Regions from separate parts of the Homo sapiens genome. Here region 2 is linked to region 1. Evidence: promoter capture Hi-C in 16 types of primary human blood cells and fetal thymus (Javierre and others, 2016). All regions are on one chromosome and are shown on one strand. Each heading gives the region's core, a stretch centred on a gene start or on the middle of the fragment in contact. The rest is flanking DNA. Distances are from core to core; before and after follow the strand shown.

Region 1 (5,960 bases), core at 1,121-3,620:
GGGAGCTCGGTTCTTGAGACGCGAGTCTGCCGAAGCTCCCGGCCGAATAAAGCCAAATCCTTCCTTAACCTGGTGTCTGAGGGGTTTTGTCCGCAGCTCGTCCTGCTACATGACCTGCCTGTCTATCCTCTTACCCACGGCAACCTGCCTTGATTCCTGCAGCTTTAAAATAACCCTATCAGGGTTACAGTATTTTAATTTCTGCTTCACATAGTGTAAATCAAAAATAAAACTCTAAGCTTCCCCAACCCACTGAATGGATCCCTCATCTCCACCAGGGGGATTCTGAAGAACCTGAAAAATGAGCTCAGGCCAGGAAGGGACGGGGATTGGACATGGCTCATTATACCCACCTCCCTTTGGAGTTCAGGTGCAGCTGACCAGACTGACAGCAGACTCCATAGCAGCAAGACACCAAGTTCCAATCTGACGCTGGTATAGCATCACGTGACAACAGGCCCTCAAAGTATCAATGTATTTTACCCCAAAATATATCTCTTTGACAAATTTTGAAATGGCCCCGCAAAGCGGTGTCTTGTGGGGAAATTCATATTCTGTAGACTCCCCTTCCCTTTCCAGCTCTTTTTCTGATCCTGAGGAGACTGGCTGAGAGTCTAGTGCCTTTTGAAGGTCTGAATAGGAAACATTTGCCATGTATTGCCTCTGAGGGCGGACACCTATGAGATTTCATCCACATAATAAGGACCTCGGTCTCCACAGCCCCTTCTCTTAACCCAGACACTCCTTTCTATTGATTCCAAGCCTTCAGATAGTAACTTCTTTCAACCAACTGCCAATCAGAAACATCTTTGAATCCACCTATTACCTGGAGGCCTTTCCACTTGGAGTCGTCCTGACTTTCTGGATCAATCCAATGCACACCTCACATGTACTGACTGATGTCTTATGTCTCCCTGAAATGAATAAAACCAAGCAGTAAAACAACCGCCTTGGGCCAAGTTCTCAGGACGTCCTGAGGCTGTGTCATGGGTCATATTTGGCTCAGAATAAATCTCTTCAAGTATTTTACAAAGTTTGGCTTTTTTTGTAAACAATAGGCAGATATAAATTCCATTTGCTAATTTTTTTAAATGCTGTGTCTTGGTTCATGAAAGACATTGGTCTGTGGTTCTACTGTCTGGTGATGTCTGACTTTGCTATCAAGGCAATGCTGGCCCATACATCGAGCAGGGAAGTGCCCCTCCTCGTCCATCGTCTGAGTGGCTGGATTCCTATTATTTCTTCTCTAAGTAGGATTCACCAGCTTGGCCCTCTGGGCCTGGAATTTTCTGTGTGAGAAAATTTGATAACAAATTGATCTCAAATTTAACAGATAATAAGCATTAGTATTTTCTTTTTTGGTAACTGGCATCCTTCAAGAAATTCGTCCAATTATACCGTTTTGGGGGCTGCCTGCACTAGAGTCAGCGTGGCGTCCCCTCAGAAGGCCGGGTTTGCCAGCGCCGCGCCCCAAGCCAGGTCGGTCGGCCAGTGCTGGTGCCCTCGGGGAACAGCGGGAGCTGCCTGGAGGCTGCGGGGAGCGGCGGCGGCGGGCACGCACCTGGCTCCCGAAACCAGACCTTTAATAACGCCTCGCAGAAGGGGCGGGGTGGGAGGTTGGCAGCGCAGGGGCGGCAGCCCCGGATCCCCCCAGGTCTCCAGATCACCCCATCGAGCCCCGCGCCCTAGCAGCACAGTCCCTCCAGGGCTCCTTGGAGGGCCAGGCCTCAGCCCGGGTGCCCCCTCGCCGGGGCTCCAGGGTTGGGGGCACCCAGGAGGCCGCAGGTGTGGAGCTCGACGGCGCCCCCCGACTAGAAACCCAGGCTCTCATGCGCGGCTCCCGCCCCGACCCCAGCTCCAGAGGGGCGAGAGCACCCGGCGCCGACCCCGTCTACGGACCCCCTCCTCCGCCCCGCCCCCGCCGTCCAGCCCTCCCGCCCCTACCAGCCCCGGGCCTCCTCCCCACGGACCCGCCCCGCGCCACCAGCCGTCAGCCCTCCCGGCCCCCAGTCTCGCGTACCCTCCCCACTGGCCTGCAGGGTCCACCGACTTCCCGACCCCGGGACCTCCCGACCCCCGGACCTCCCGGCCTCGCGGACCCTCAGGAGCCCCTGCGTGGGCTGCGCCAGGGCGCCCGCGACAGCACCGCCGCGAACCACAGCCACGGCCTCCGGGTCTGCAATGGAACCTCTAGCCGCTGCGGTCAGGAGGGCGGAGACTCTGCGCACGCGCAGTTCCCCCTCCCGCCCCTGCTTGCCGGTGATGGCGCATAACGCATGCGCGGGGAGGGCGGAGCTGGGCGTTGCCGTGGCTACTGGGAACGCATTTCACGGGGGCGGGGCGTGGTTCCGGGGCGGGGCGCGGCCGCCGGAAGTGCGTGGCCGCCCGGGGCCATGGCGACACTCAGCTTCGTCTTCCTGCTGCTGGGGGCAGTGTCCTGGCCTCCGGCTTCTGCCTCCGGCCAGGAGTTCTGGCCCGGACAATCGGCGGCCGATATTCTGTCGGGGGCGGCTTCCCGCAGACGGTAAACGCGCGTCCACGGTGCCAACGCTGGGGTTCCAGGACCGGGCAGGGTCAGAGGATGGGATGGGGGCGGGGCGGGGTCAGGGGCCAGGGAGATGGGATGGGGTCAGGGGCAGGCCCACGGGATGGAGGGTGGTCCGGGGCCAGGGAGATGGAATGGAGCGGAGTTATGGGGCAGGGGCCAGGGGGATGGGATGGAGCGGGGTCAGGGGGCAGGGGTCAGGGGAATGGGATGGGGTCAGGGTTCTGGGGCAAGGAATGTGGCGGAGTAAGGGGCCAGGGTGATGGTATAGGGGCAGGGGGCAGGGGCCAGGAGGGATGGGATGGGGGCGGGGCAGGGATCAGGGCGATGGGATGGGATGGGGGCGGGGCAGGGGCCAGGGTGATGGGATGGGATGGGGGCGGGGCAGGGGCTAGGGCCAGGAGGGGTGGGATGGGATGGGGGCAGGAACGGGGGCCCGAGGGATGGGATGGGGGCGGGGCGGGAGCCGGGGCCAAGAAGGATGGGACGGGGACGGGACAGGGGCAGGGGCAGGGGCAGGGGCCGGGGCCGGGCTGGAGTCTGGGGGATGGGATGGGGCGGGGGCTGGGGGCAGGGTCGGGCCAGCGGGTTGGCTGTAGTCGAGGCTGCGTCACTGCGGCCCGGGTCTGCAGGCGGGGTCGTCTGCGAGGCCCGGGGCGCAGCCTCGGGAGCCCAGGAAGGGGGCCGGGTTGCTCAGGCTGAGCGTGGGCTGGCTCCGGAGGCCCCTGCAAGTGACACGGGTCCAGGCCTGGGTGTGCGGAGCCGGGAGTCAGTGCCGGGCGGGCGCTCCGCAGTGAATTCTCAGGGCCAAGACGAGCTTCGCGGCCGCCCTGTGGCTGTGGGATCTCCAAGCGGACCCCGGGAGGGGCCTGGACGCAGAGGTGTGCACGGCCCCTCGTGGCGTTCGCAGGCCTGGGCGCTGCACGCAGCTTCACTCGCGACGATGGGAGTATGGAAAACCAGCGCAGAGCAGGGAAAGGAGAGCGCCAGGGACAGGGTTTCTGTAGCCCTTGGGGACTTGTCTGTGCCTTGGGGACTTGTCTGTGCCTTGGGGCGCTTTGTGTCCTTCCTCTAGGGCAGTGATCTTAAAGTGTGTCCTGGATCTCTGAGCTTTTGTAGCCGTTTTAATAGTAGTACCAGAGTATTATACGCCTTTTTCACTTCTCATGAATGCACTGTGGAGTTTTCCTAGAAACCACTTGATCTGTGATGTCACAACAGATTGAATGCAGAAACGGGTATGGGAATCCAGCTGTCACCAAACCCAAAAGAGATTTGCAAAAATTAAGAACATCATCACAGTTCTTCTAATTCATTTTTTAAAATACACTTATTTTTTATTTAAATATGTGGTTTTTGTTAACATGTAATGGCTTCTTATTTTTAGCTGAATTAAATACTTGTAGCTTTAACGTCTAACATAGGACGTATCAATAGACATAGTGCACATAACCAGCCGTCAGTCATTGTTTCCAGTGTAAAGGGGTCTTTAAACCAAACAGTTTGAGAACCATGTGGGTACTGATTCTTGGGTTCCAGTCACTGGGATTCCTCTGCCTTAGTGTTGAACTATTGCTAATTGTTAAAACGATGTTAGCATGTCTGCTGCTTCTGCTTACAGGCTCCGTAAGTAACTGGTCATAGAGAAACAGGCCACTCACTGCCTTCACAAACTAGGAACCATTGTTAAGTGCCTAGAGTCGGGCCACGCGCTGAGACTTGTGAGCAGTCGGGTTTTCCGTGCAGAAACCTCAGCATTTGAGACCTGTGGTCCTCCTTCTCCCTGCTCAGGTATCTTCTGTATGACGTCAACCCCCCGGAAGGCTTCAACCTGCGCAGGGATGTCTATATCCGAATCGCCTCTCTCCTGAAGACTCTGCTGAAGACGGAGGAGTGGGTGCTTGTCCTGCCTCCATGGGGCCGCCTCTATCACTGGCAGAGTCCTGACATCCACCAGGTCCGGATTCCCTGGTCTGAGTTTTTTGATCTTCCAAGTCTCAATAAAAACATCCCCGTCATCGAGTATGAGCAGTTCATCGCAGGTGAGGCCGAGCGGCACGCTGGGAGGCCGTGGTTGCTTAACTGGGGCCAGGCAGTCATTTCTAAGGTAGACATCAGGTTGGGCTTACGATTGCATCCAGCCTCACCAGCATCCTCCAGTGCCCAGTGCTGCTGCCTGAGGCCTGTGGCAGCACCTCCTCCGTTCAGGAGCACAGTCCCTTTCCCACGCTGCAGTGAGCTTCCCAAAATGTTTCTCGGAAATGGACCTGAAGTGGATGAGCTTTGTGCCCCCTCAGTTAGAGCCGCCCTTACACCCTAAGAAAGCGGCCACCCCTGGGTGTTATAGTGACAGGACTCGGCTCCCTGTGCGAAAGGCTGTTTTACGTTCAGGAAGACGCACTGCGTGTGGAGTATGCTTCGTGGTGTCTCAGTGCAGCGCCAGGGATAAAGGTCTGTCTCGTTTAATTTTGTGTTGCTTAATCTTTTCAGTTAATTTTAAGAGAAGAATTAAAGCTCTTCTTAGAATGAAGGTATTTAGAGCTTTTTGTGTTGCGTTGTTTGGAAGAGATAAAGGTAAGTGATGCTTTGCTGCTGCACTTGAGAGGCCTTGAAGACGAATGAGTTAGTTTTGAGTCAGGCTCCTGCTTTCCAGCATCTGTTGAGTTCTTACTCGACAGCCACTCTCGGGGCTTAGAGACCTTTGCTCCCTGCCAAGGAGTGTGGCTCCCGTGTCATCATTTTTCAAGGATGTGGTTCTCGTTGCACCCTAGATCTTGTCACTCTGAAATGTTTTCTGTGTCAAGGTCAGTCTTGTGAGTGCTAGGGGCATGCAACAACAGGCGGTAACCTCCAACATCCTTGTTGATACCAAGTCAGAAAGTCTGCTGCTTGTAAAAAGCATTCCTGGAGTGCGTCCTTTCCTGAGTTGACTTTAAAATTTGCTTGTGAGTCCTGGAAGATGAAAGCTGTGGTTGGGTATTGGGTCTAACTAGCAGCCAGCCCTCGGTCTGAACATTGGGTTATAGGAACCCAGAGATGCTATCCTTACCTCCCTTTGGTACCAGTGGGTTTCCTGACAGGGAAGCGGACAGGTCTGGGCCTTGGGCATCCAAGTGCTTGGGAAGGTCTGGGAAGACAGATGCTGTGTAATGAGCTTCTGAGGCACATATGCTGGTCTCACGCTTACCTGCCATCCACCAGCCTGGGGCTTTGCTGAGCTGTTTCCTCGCCTGTGAGGTGGGGAAGGAACTGGGTGCCTGTCCTAGGGCGAGGCTGCCAAGAGACTGCACACGGTGAGCTCCTGATGTGGCTGACATAGCGCCCAGCGTGCAGGATCTTCACCACCTCCCACTAGCCTAAAAGAAGCCCCCGCAGCTGTGGCCTCAGGCCCTTAGGCCACGCAGCCCTTAGCCCC
Region 2 (5,947 bases), core at 2,934-5,433, 590 kb before region 1:
AGAGCAAGATCCTGTCTCAAACATTATACATGCACACACACGTGACATATATGTATATTTAGATGTGCATGCATGTTGCATATGTGTATGTTATATATGTGTATGTATACATGTGTATATACATGTGCTACATATATATATTTGTGTGTGTATATATATGCTATATACTTAGTATTCAGTATGTGTGTATATATATGATATACTACCTACAGCAAGCACTAAAAAAGAAAGCCATACAGATATATACTCTAAAATGCTACTGATAAAATAAAATTCCAAAAAAATGTACACTGACTCACAGGAAGAAAGAAAAAACTAAAACCAGAGAAACAAAAAACAAAGCCAACAAAATTAAAAATGAGGCTGGGTGCGATGGCTCACGCCTGTAATCCCAGCACTTTGGGCGGTCAAGGTGGGAGGATCACTTGAGCCCAGGAGTTCAAGGCCAGCCTGGGCAACACAGGAATACCTAGTCTCTACAAAATATAAAAATAAATTGGCTGGGCATGGTGGTGCATGCCTGTGGTCCCAGCTGCTTGAGAGGCTGGGGTGGGGGGATCACTTCAGCCCAGAAGAGGCTGCAGTGAGCCATGATCACACTACTGCACTCCAGCCTGGATGACAGAGTAGGGCCCTATCTCAAAATAAATAAATACAAAAGATAAATAAAAGGTGAAATGGCAGATTTAAGCCCTAACATCTCAATACCGTAATAACTTTAAGTATAAATGGTCCAAATACACCAATTGAAGCACAGATGGGCAGAGTGGATTTAAAAATATGACCCCATCATATGCTGTCTACAGAAAACTCACTTCAAATAGAACAATATAAGCAAACTGAAGATAAACTAATGGGAAAAGGCGTATCGTGCAACCATTAATCAAAAGAAAGCAGGAATGGCTATATTAATATCGGAAAAAATAGACGTCAGAGCAATGAAAATGATCAGAGACAGAGAAGGACATTACATAATGATAAAAGAGTCTAAATAAGCAATAGCAATCCTAAATGTGTATGAATCAAATAACAGAGCTGTAAAATATGTGAAGCAGAAACTAATAGTAGTGAAAAGAAAAATATAAAAATCCACAACGACAGCTGAAGACTTTATTACTGTCAACAACTGAAAGAACCACTGGGCAGAGAATTAGCAAAGGATTTGGAAGGACTCAACACCATCAACCAACGGGGCCTAACGAACACTTCCGGAACACTCTGTCCAGCATCAGCAGAATCCACACTCTCTTCCTGCATGTACAGAATCTATACCAGGATAGACCATACCCTTGGCCATAAAAGAAACCTCAGCAAATTTAACAGAATTGAAACCGTAGTGTATGTTCTCTGACCACAGCTGACTCAAACCAGAATCAATCATGGAAAGATAACAAGAAAAGTTCCAAGCACTTGGAAATGAAACACATATATGAACAATCCAAGGGTCAAAGAGGGAATCTCAAGGAACATCAAAAAACACATTGACCTGAATGAAAATAAAAACACAGCATATCAAAAATCGCAGGACACAACTACAGCAGTGCTGAGAGGGAAACCTGTGGCACGAAACACACACATTTGAAGAGAGAAAAGCTTCCAATCAATAATCTAAGCACTCATTTTAAGAATCTAATAAAAGAAGAACAAAATAAATCCAAGTAAGCAGAGGAATGAAATACTAAAGACCAGAACTTGGCGCTGGTGTAAGAACGACATGCAGGCCGGTGGAGGAGAGCGGAGAGCCTGGCAGGAAACCCCGCAGCTGCAGCCAATCCATCTACAATAAAGACACCAGGAACACACACGGGGAAGGACAGTTTCTTCAATAAACGGTGTTGGGGAAACTGGATGTCCCTGTGCAGAAGAATGAAATTAGACCCTCATCTCACACCATCTATAAAAATCAACTCAAAATGGGTTAAAGACTTAAATGTAAGATCTGCAACTGCAAAACCACTAAGAAAAAACACAGGGAAAAATTCCACGACACTGGTTTAGTTAATGATTTTTTTTTAAATATGGCCCTCAAAGTACAGGCAACAAAAGCAGAAAGTAGAGAAATGGGATTATATCAAACTGAAAAGCTTCTGCACAGCAAACAACAGAGTGAAGAGACAACCTAGGGAACTGGAAAAAAAACTGCAAACCATACAACATCTGATAAGGAGTTAATACTCAAAATGTGTAAGGAACTCAAACAACTCAATAGCAAGAAAACAAATACCAGATTTTAAAAAAATGGCAAAGAAACGGAATGGAAGCTTCTCAGAAGGAGACATACAAATGGCTAACAGGTATATGAAAAAGTGCACAACATCACTAATCACCAGAAAAATGCAAATTCAAACCACAATGGGATATCGGCTCATACCTGTTAGAATGGCTATTATCAAAAAGACAAAAGCTAAGTGTTGGTGAGGAGGTGGACAAAAGGGAACCCTTGTACAGTGCTGATGGGAAACTTAGTACAGTCATTATGGAGAACGGTACGGAAGTTCCTCAAAAAACTAGAAATAGAACCACCACAGGATCCAGCAGTCTCACTTCAGGGCATATACCCAAAGTCACTATAGTGAGGAGACACATGCAGGCCCGTGTTGATTGTGGCACAACTCACAACAGCCTAGATATGGTGGAATCAGCCTAAGTGTTCATAGAGAGACGAACGGATAAAGAAAATGTCACACACAGACATACACACAGAAAGAAGCCATGTCATCTGTGTCACTGCGGATGAACCTGGAGGACATTATAACAAGTAAAATGAACTGGGCACAGAAAGACAAATACTGCATGATCTCACATGTGGAATCTAAAAAAGTGCATCTCACAGAAGCAGAGGGTGGGAGGTGGCTGTCGGGGACTGCGGGGGGTTGGGGGAAATGGGAGCTGTTGGTCACTGGCACAAGTTCAGTTAGACGGGAGTCAAACAGGCTGGGGAGCTGCTGTGTGGCACAGTGACTATGGGTAAGAACAATGTATACTTGAAAATTGCTGAGAGTGATTTTAAATTCTTTATAGAGATGGGGTCTCTCTATGTTGCCTAGGCTGTTGCCTGAGGTAGGCAGGTCACTGGAGTCTAGGAGTTCAAGACCAGCCTGGGCAAAATAGACCCCATCTCTACAAAATGTTGAAAAAATTAGTTGGGTGTGGTGGAGTGCACCTGTGGTCTCAACTCCTGGGAGACAGGTGGGAGGATCACTCGAACCTCACCACAAACAAAGGTATGTGAGGTGATGGATATGTTAATTAGCTTGATTTAATAATTTCACACACAAAAAACATGAACACATAGAATTCAGCAATATACCACAAGAATTACATGCTATAACCATTCTTCCTGTGATGCAAGGCTGGCTCAGAGTTGGAAAATCTGTCTGTGTAATCTACCTTATTAACAGACTAAAGAAAGCACACAATCATATCAATGCATGCAGAAAAGCCTGTCACAAAACTCCATACCAACTCACGATAAAAATTAAAATGCTCAGAAAAAAACAGGAATAGAGGGGAACTCGCTCAGCTTGATGAAGGCCAGCCAGGAAAGCAGCCACAGCTGTGGCCCGCAGCTGGCCCAGGCATGTCCACTCAGGAGCACTTGGCTGGGCATGAGCTGCCTGACGCTGCCAGTGAGCTTCTAAGCTTGGACTCACCCCGTGCTGAAGCCCCTGGGTACCTTCCCACTGCTGTGCTGTTTAACCCCGGCCCTGAGCCTCCCGTCCAGAGCCCAGCACCTACCCCCTTGGTCTTGTTTGTCACTGCTCCCTGCCCTCCCGCTGGCTCCCTGGCTTCCGTGGCAGGGACAGGGTGAGTTCTCCCACCCACTTATCAGGACCTTCTTCTGGAGGGTATTGCCTACCAGGCTGTACCTACAACCCCGTCTCTCCTGGCCCTGCTGCAGTCACCTGGGGCCACCCTGGCACCGAGAGGGCAGAGGGCACACGTGTCTCCTCCGTTCACCACTGAATCCCCAGTTCCCAGCACCACTCTTGGCCCACAAGGGGGCGCAGTATGTATTTAAGGATTAGACAGATTCACACCATGAGCACTGAGCCCAGCTCAATTTCCACGGCCTCGTGGAACGTTCTGAAATTCAGCGATTTCTAAACTCAATACTCAGAAGCACCGTAATCCTATTTTCTCCCACACCACCCACTCCTGCGTTTTTCATTCAGACAGTCACTGAGGGTTTGCTGGGGGTCTGCTGTGGGGGTCCCTGTGGCCCACAGAGGCGGCACAGGGCTGGGTTTGGGCCATGGCAGAAGAAGTTGTGTGGGGTCAGGACCGCGGCGCCCCAGGCGCTCCCCTCCCCTCCGAGGCCCAGGGCCAGCAGGGTAGAGCTTTCCAGGAGGGCAACTGGGGAACCAGGCAACAGTCCTGCTTTCGAAGGCTGGCCGTGACTTGCAAATCCACCAGCTCCCAGAAGAGGCCAGAGGAAAACCACTCACGACAGGAACGTCTTGTCAATAAAAAGGATGCAGAGAAAAATGCCACGAAACCAGGATGGACTCTCACGCCACACAACAAACGCAGACAGCAGAGAACTGCCACCGTTTTGCAAGCTCTTGAAACCCATGATTGTTTCTGTCCTTCCTTTATTTGAACTACTCCAATGTGAAGAGGCTTAGTTCTGTTTTTAATTTCATTGGGTTTGGGTCTTGATTATTTACTCCCTTCTGCTTGTTTTGTTTTCTTTTTTTAAAGTTTCTTCAAGTGGAAGCTTACATTATTGTTTGAAGACCTTTCTTCTTTTCTAATGGATGCTGTCATGCTATAAATTTCTCTAGAGGCACTGATTTACTAGTATCCTATAGGTTTTTTTTCATTTTCTCTTACTTCAAAGTATTTTCTAATTTTTTTATACTTCCTCTTTGACTAGGGCATTATTTAGAGGTGTGTGTTTTGATTTTCAAGTATTTGGAAAATTTCCAGTTATCTCTGGTTATTGATTTATAGTTTAATTCTACTGTGGCCAGAAAATACATTTTATATGATTTAAATTATTTTAAATTTGTTAGGCTTTAGTTTTTTACATGGAATATGACCTGCCTTGGGGAACATCCCATGTGCACATAAAAACCACGTGTACTGTGGTGTCTGCATTGTCTGCAGGTCTCGGAAGCTCCATTCATTTCTCCCAGTCCTTTTTCTATCACTCGGCATGGATCATTTGTACTGAGCTGTCCTCGTGTTTGCTGACGCTGTGCCCTGTCACTTCCATTGTTATTGAGTCTACATCATGAATTTTTCATTCTGGTTATTAGATTTTTTAGTTCTAAAATTTCCATTTTATTCTTTAAATCTATTTCCTTGGCCAGGCGCAGTGGCTAACGCTTGTAAACCCGGTACTTTGGGAGGCTGAGGTAGGCAGATCGCTTGAGTGTAGGAGTTTAGGACCAGCCCGGGCAACACAGAGAGACCTCATCTCTACGAAAAATTTTAAAAATTAGCCAGGTGTGGTGGCTGCACCTGTGGTTGCAGCTGCTGGGAGGCTGAGATGGGAGGATCGCTTGAGCCTGGGAGATGGAGGCTGCAGTGAGCTGAGATTGCACCACTGCACTCCAGCCTGGGTGACAGAGTGAGACCCTGTCTCACTCAAACAAACAAACAAACAAAACCTTCGCTTTCCCTGCGTAGAGTTCCTATTTTTCCATTCATTTTGAGAGGGCTCACCCTTCCTCCTGGAGCACGGTGGCGCAGCTGCTCTGAAGATCTTGTGGATCCTCCACCAGGAAGGATCCCAGGTTGGTGTGTGTTGCTCATTTCCCAGCTGGAGAGGCTGAGGGTTCCTATTTCTTCCTATGCTGAGTACGGACGTCGAGTTGTCCTCTGGTCTGTTTGAATATTGTCGTAACACTCCAGTTATCACTTAAATCTTATGCAGAACCACGACATTTTTATTTTATCGGGCAGTGGTTCTAGTTAGTTCCAAAGCCTCTGTGGGCTG

Evidence for each region. The method cuts DNA at HindIII sites, captures the fragments that hold promoters and counts their contacts. A CHiCAGO score of 5 or more calls a contact.
Region 2: a fragment that was not itself captured here is called in contact with the fragment with the promoter of POFUT2 in region 1 in 1 of 17 cell types (M2 macrophages); the score reaches 6.0 in M2 macrophages.

The regions. Positions count from the first base shown.
Region 1 is chr21:45,284,305-45,290,264 of GRCh38, reverse strand. It overlaps POFUT2 (protein O-fucosyltransferase 2), which reads left to right and starts at 2,370. Exons shown (of 9, transcript NM_133635.6): 1 at 2,370-2,524; 2 at 4,337-4,587. The coding sequence starts at 2,394. It overlaps LINC00205 (long intergenic non-protein coding RNA 205), which reads right to left and starts at 2,213. Exons shown (of 3, transcript NR_026943.1): 1 at 2,021-2,213; 2 at 827-914. RefSeq lists an enhancer at 1,029-1,759 and a silencer at 1,914-2,443. The HindIII fragment of the contact is 9,019 bases long and covers 242-5,960 here.
Region 2 is chr21:45,878,650-45,884,596 of GRCh38, reverse strand. The region is part of intron 5 of PCBP3 (poly(rC) binding protein 3); the gene reads right to left. Among named protein-coding and RNA genes, the nearest start is that of PCBP3-AS1, 45 kb to the right of the region's middle. RefSeq lists an enhancer at 3,218-4,022. The HindIII fragment of the contact is 1,078 bases long and covers 3,645-4,722 here.